Regions from separate parts of the Homo sapiens genome. Here region 2 is linked to region 1. Evidence: promoter capture Hi-C in human tissues and cell types (Jung and others, 2019). All regions are on one chromosome and are shown on one strand. The core of a region is centred on a gene start or on the middle of the fragment in contact, and the rest is flanking DNA. Distances in the headings are between cores, read along the strand shown. Region 1 holds the start of ASGR2 (asialoglycoprotein receptor 2). Region 2 has its middle 13 kb from the start of ASGR1.

What was found. Contacts are between HindIII fragments. The study calls those that stand out against the background at their distance.
Region 2: a contact is called between a fragment that was not itself captured here and the fragment with the promoter of ASGR2 in region 1, in 1 of the 25 tissues and cell types used here (IMR-90 fibroblasts).

The regions. Positions count from the first base shown.
Region 1 is chr17:7,113,434-7,116,478 of GRCh38, forward strand. It overlaps ASGR2 (asialoglycoprotein receptor 2), which reads right to left and starts at 1,389. Exons shown (of 9, transcript NM_001201352.2): 1 at 1,182-1,389; 2 at 684-877. The coding sequence starts at 807. RefSeq lists an enhancer at 1,541-2,327. The HindIII fragment of the contact is 7,513 bases long and covers 1-3,045 here.
Region 2 is chr17:7,165,161-7,168,205 of GRCh38, forward strand. No RefSeq gene overlaps it. Among named protein-coding and RNA genes, the nearest start is that of ASGR1, 13 kb to the right of the region's middle. The HindIII fragment of the contact is 4,369 bases long and covers 1-3,045 here.

The DNA.
Region 1 (3,045 bases), core at 139-2,638:
CACAACACTCACACAACACACAAACATACATACACTCACACAATACACACACACAACACACACACAACATACACAACGTACACACACACAACATACACACACTCATACACAACATACATACACACAACATACACACAACATACACACACTCACATACACAACATACACTCGCACAACATACACACATGCACAAGATACACACACAACACACAACATACACTCACACACAAGATACACACAACATATACTCACACAACATACACACACAACACACTCTCACACACAACATACCCTCTCACATACACGACATACACACACACAACATATGCACGCTCTCGCGCACATATACACACACACAACATTCACTCACACACACACACAGAGTCCCAGCTGAATCTGCATTCCTCATATGCACATACGTGCACACGCACATACGAGGCACATGTGTTCTTGGGTTGGGAGGAGAAGGGCAGGCAGTTATCTTCCAGATCTCCCCACACCTCTGGCACATGCCTTTCCTGGGGTCCTGGGGTAGACAGGAAGGTGAGGTGAGGGAACAAGCGGGGGTGTCGGGCCCTCCTCAGTCCCTGTTCACAGAGTGGGTGCGGCAGAGACCTCAAAGGGACAGAGCAATCATGAGCTGAGACAGAGGGGGAGCAAAGCCGCAGAAACTGCACACTTGCCTTTCAAAAATGGATTTCCTCTCCTGGGATTCAGCCTGCGAGTGCCTGGCCCCTCACCTTGATGGAAAGGATGGTCATTTTCCTCCGAGCTCAGCTGCTGGATATCTTGAAAGTCCTTGGCCATGATGGGGCCCGGGCTGGAGCTGGAGCTGGAGCTGGGCTGGGCTGGGCTGAGGTTGCTCTGAGGGCTGGGGCTGGGGCAGAGGTGCAGATTCACGTGGAGGTTGATGGTGGGATGGAACGCAGGGTCGGAGGGGTTCGGGGTGGTGGCCTGGGTAGGATCTGAGGTTGGCAGGGCGTTTGGGATGAGGTTTGAAATCCCGCTGGGTCCTTTCCCTTCTCAGGAGACCGCTTGGGCCTTGACCTGGCCAGGAGACCCCTCCCCACGCTCATGGACCCGACCACCCACAGCTTCCCATGGGGTCCTCCCCATCCCTGAACCAAGGCCTCCTTGTTCCCAAGCATCCTCGTCCCAGTTGCCTCCCCAGCCTCAGTTACCTGTGAAAGGTGTGGAGAGCGGACACCTGGCTCCCGCAGGCAACCCTGGCCTTGGCCAAGGAGGGGTTAAAGCCAGGAGAACTGGGGCAGGTGGAGCTCACAGGGGAGAGGAGAGTGGAGGAGGGGCTGGTCCGGGCAAGGCCTGCACTGGAGGGTCTGAGTGTCCAAGCTCTAACCTGGCACCTCCTGGCCTGGGACTTTGGACAGTAAACAGAAGAGGAAACAGAGCTGTAACTCATTTGTGGGGTGGGGGCAGGGGACGGGGCTATCTCTGTTCTTATTCCCAGAGAGGGGGGTCCCCTGGGCTGCGCTCAACTCCACACGCCACTCACCCCACTCATTGCACCATTTGGAAGGGGTGCCAGGCCAGGAGGGGCTGGGGTGCAGTTTGCCGTTTCCCTCTCTCCCTCCCCCTCTCACTTCCTGCCTCCGAATTTACCAGAACTGTGGGTGTCTCCAAATATCCCTGACCAGGATCACAGCGACCAGTTCTCTACTCTTGCCCAATCCGGCATCTGAACCACAGACCCCAGCTTCCTGTGGGCTCGGCCACCAGACTCTCAGCTCTGGCCCAACTCGCTTCACTCTCCTGGAGAGTAAAGCCTCTCAAATCCAGAAGCTTCAGCAGGAGGAGGAAGGGGCTTTGCAGAAAAACAGCTCTCCTCGCAGGAGGAATCCAACCTCAGAGAGCCCCGTCCGGCCCAGACCCTGCCCCAGCCCAGGCAACACAAACACTGTCCTCAGGCCCAGCCACTGCCCTAAATTCTCCAAGGTGTTTCTTCATTTATCACAGCACAACACCCCCACGAGGCAGGACTTCTGTTACTCCCATTTCACAGGGTTCGGAAGCGGAGCCTCGGAGAGATGAGGCAACTTGCTCTAGGTGGTGGCCCAGGTGAGTAGAGAAACTGGCAAAGCAAAATGGAGTAAAGAGGGGAAAATAACATCATAACAAAAGGTCTGGCCGGGCACGGTGGCTCACGCCTGTAATCCCAGCATTTTGGGAAGCCGACGTGGGTGGATCACCTGAGGTCAGGAGTTCGAGACCAGCCTGGCCAACATGGTGAAACTCTGTCTCTACTAAAATACAAAAATTAGCCGGGCGTGGTGGCAGGGGCCTGTAATCCCAGCTACTCAGGACGCTGAGGCAGGAGAATCGATTGAACCTGGGAGGCGGAGGTTGCATTAGCCAAGATTGCGCCATTGCACTCCAGCCTGGGCAACAAGAGAGAAACTCCATCTCAAAGAAAAAAAAAAGAAAGAAAGAAAAAGAAAAGAAAAGGTCTTCATGGTCCTACGAGGAAGACTGGCTTCCATGAAGCAAGGAACGTGGCTGACTGTCTACACTTGCGCTAACAATAGCTCGGGAAAGAAAACACAGTTTTTGTGCATGATTTTCTGACCCTCACCAAACTTGGGCGGATGGCTACGGGCAGGGTTTCTTATAAAGCTGCTCGTTTCCCCGGGTGCCGAAAAGGAATTCAAACAGAGGCCTTTTCTGTTCTTGTAACTTGCTGACCCACATGGGAAGTAGCCACCCCCCCAGTACCCTGACATTCCCACCCAGCCACCAGGCAGCAGCAGCCGCTGGGCTCTCTGACTGCAGCCCACAGCGAGAGACGAATTTCATGCTGTGATCCAGAACATACACACAAGCACCCGCACACACAGGTGCATTTGTATGTGTTACTTTCTCCTGGATCCCCAGTGCCTGCCACACAGTAGCTGCTCAACAAGTATCTACTGAGTGAGTGAGTGAATAGAATAATGCGTTTGGAAATACACGGTTGACACTAAAGTTTGATGGGACAATGCTCACCTTACTACGTGCCTTCTGTTGAGTTTCCCAGTCCATTAATGGGTC
Region 2 (3,045 bases), core at 387-2,886, 52 kb after region 1:
CTCCCTGTAGAGTGGCTGTGGGTTAGCTGCCCCCTGCAACTGAGTATCACAGCTCCTGTTGGGAGGCCCTCTCCCTGCGGTCCTGGAGGTGGTAACAGCTCCCCACTCTGGGATGCCTAGGTTCTTGCTCCATCTTGTGGCTTCCCTAAGCCTGTTCACACCTTTGCAGAGAGTCCCTATATTATGAAATCTTGCACTTACCCATTTTTGGGTGTGCCATCTGTTGCTTGCTGGGAGCCTACCTGATACATTGCTGTTGAACTGAAATTTATCATTTTCATGCAATTTCACAAATTTTTTTTGGCTTTTTGGAATGTGCTTCGGAGGCCTTATTTAACAAGCTCTTCAGCCGGGCGCGATGGCTCACACCTGTAATCCCAGCACTTTGGGAGGCCAAGGTGGGTGGATCATGAGGTCAGGAGATGGAGACCAGCCTGGCCAACAGGGTGAAACCCCGTCTCTACTAAAATTCGAAAAATTAGCTGGGCGTGGTGGCGCATGCCTGTATTCCCAGCTACTCAGGAGGCTAAGAAGGGGAATTGCTTGAACCTGGGAGGCAGAGGTTGCAGTGAGCCAAGATCACGCCACTGCTCTCCAGCCTGACGACAGAGCAAGACTCTGTCTCAAAAAAAAAAAAAAGAAGAAGAAGAAACCCTTCTATACTCTTAGTAGTATAGATTTTTCTTTCTTTCTTTTTTCCTACTAGTTCTGTAATTTTATGTTATATGTTTAGGTCTTCAATCTATCCAACATCCACCTTTGCCTGTGATGTTAGGTATGAATCCAGTTTTACTTATCTTCATAGAGTGAGCCAGTTTTCCCAATAATGTCTTTCTTCTACCAATTTGAGATGTTACCTTTATTGTATATTAAGTTCCCATGTAGGCACAGTTCTGTCTCTCGGCTCTTTATTCTATAACATTGGTTTATCCGTCTATTCTTGTATCATTACTGTGCTATTTTTATTACTATGGCTTTGTAATATATTTTAAAGTCTAATAAGGCTAGTTCCCCCTTCCTCCAATTTCTCCTTTTTTTCCCATATTGACTTTTATCTTGCCACATATATTTTTTTTAAAGTTGTTGCATTGCTTTTAAAAATCCAATTGAGGTCGGGCGCAGTGGCTCACTCCTCTAATCCCAGCACTTTGGGAGTTTGAGGCAGGTGGATCACTTGAGGTCAGGAGTTCAAGACCAGTCTGGCCAACACGGTGAAACCCCATCTCTACTAAAAATACAAAAATTAGCTGGACGTGGTGGCGGGCACCTGTACTCCCAGCTACTTGAGAGGCTGAGGCAGGAGAATCGCTTGAACCTGGAGGCGGAGGTTGCAGTGAGGTGAGATTACACCATTGTACTCCCACCTGGGTGACAGAGGGAGAATCCATCTCAAAAAGAAAATCAATTGAAATTTTATTTTTATTGCGTTGAATGTATATGTTAATTTGGAAAGAATTTAAGTTTCTTCTTGTATGTTCTTCATGTGTTATTGTGGTGATAGACTAATACACCTGCCGAAGCCTCTTATTAGGTCGAATTGTTTGTTTGTTTGTTGATGGTGTTGATTTTCTGTATAGGTGAGCATATTGTTTTATCTCTTCCTTTCCAATTCTTACAACTTTTAATGTCTTTTTCTGTCTTGTGCAGTTTGGCTACCATGCCCAGGATGATGCTGAACAGCAATAATAGCACTATAACGGAGGCTTCTAATTACCCCTAATACCAATTATCCCCTTCTTGCTACACCAGAGGTCCAGAAACATCTCCTATAAAGGGCCAGATAGCAAGTATTTTAGGCTTACCAGGTCATACAGTCTTTATCATAACTACTCAATTCTGCTGTTGCTGTGGTCATAAATGACATGTAAACAAACAGGCATGGCTGTGTTCCGATAAAACTTTATTTACAGGCCGGGATCCGTGGCTCATTCCTGTAACCCAGCACTTTGGAGGCGAAGGCGGGTAGATCACTTGAGCACAGGAGTTCAAGACCAGCCTGAGCAACATGGTGAAACCCCGTCTCTACAAAAAAATACAAAAATTAGCAGGGTATGGTGGCTTGCGCCTGTAATCCCAGCTACTTGGGAGGCTGAGGCAAGAGGATCACTTGAGCCTGGAAGGCAGAGGCTGCAGTGAGTCAAGATCCAGAGGCTGCAGTGAGTCAAGATCACGCCGCTGCACTCCAGCCTGGGCGACAGAGCCAGACCTTGTTGCAAAAAAAAAAAAAAAAAAAAAAAAAAAAAACTGGCCAGGTGTGGTGGCTCACACCTGTAATCCCAACACTTTGGGAGGCTGAGATGGGCAGATCACCTGAGGCCAGGAGTTCGAGAACAGTCTGGCGAACATGGTGAAACCCCGTCTGTACTAAAAAAAAAAAAAAAAGAAAAAATACAAAACATTAGCCGGGCATAGTGGTGCACGTCTGTAATCCCAGCTACTTGGGAGGCTGAGGCACGAGAACTGCTTGAACCTGAGAGGTAGAGGTTACAGTGAGCCGAGATTGTGCCATTGCACTTCAACCTGGGCAACGGAGAGAGACTCCGTCTCAGAAAAAAAAAAAAAAATAGAAAAAGAAAGCTTTATTTACAGAAGCAGGTGAGGGCCAAAGTTTACTGACTCCTTCTCTACAAAATAGAATCCTGTGTTTTTAGCAAGAATGTGGCCTCATGGAATAAAGTTCATTTCTCAGCCCCATTTGCAGCTATCTGTGGCCCTGGGACTAATTCTGATCAAAGAGATATAAAGTGAAGTGATGGAAGTGTCTGCATAGACAGAGAGAGAATGCGCCATTCTCCTTCCCTTTTCCCCTTTCTCTTGTCCGGAATGTGTCATAACAGGAGGGGCAGACATCTTGGAACATGTGATGGAAGCCACAGATTGAAACGATGGAGCAACAACGTAGAAACAGCTAGAGTCCAGAAAGATTTCATCATAAATCAGAGCTGAACTTTTGCTGAGTGTTTTTTCTGCATTGTGTAATTGTTTTCTTTTGTACACATTTAATCTATTTTTCTGTACTCTCTAAATCTATTATATTAACAGATT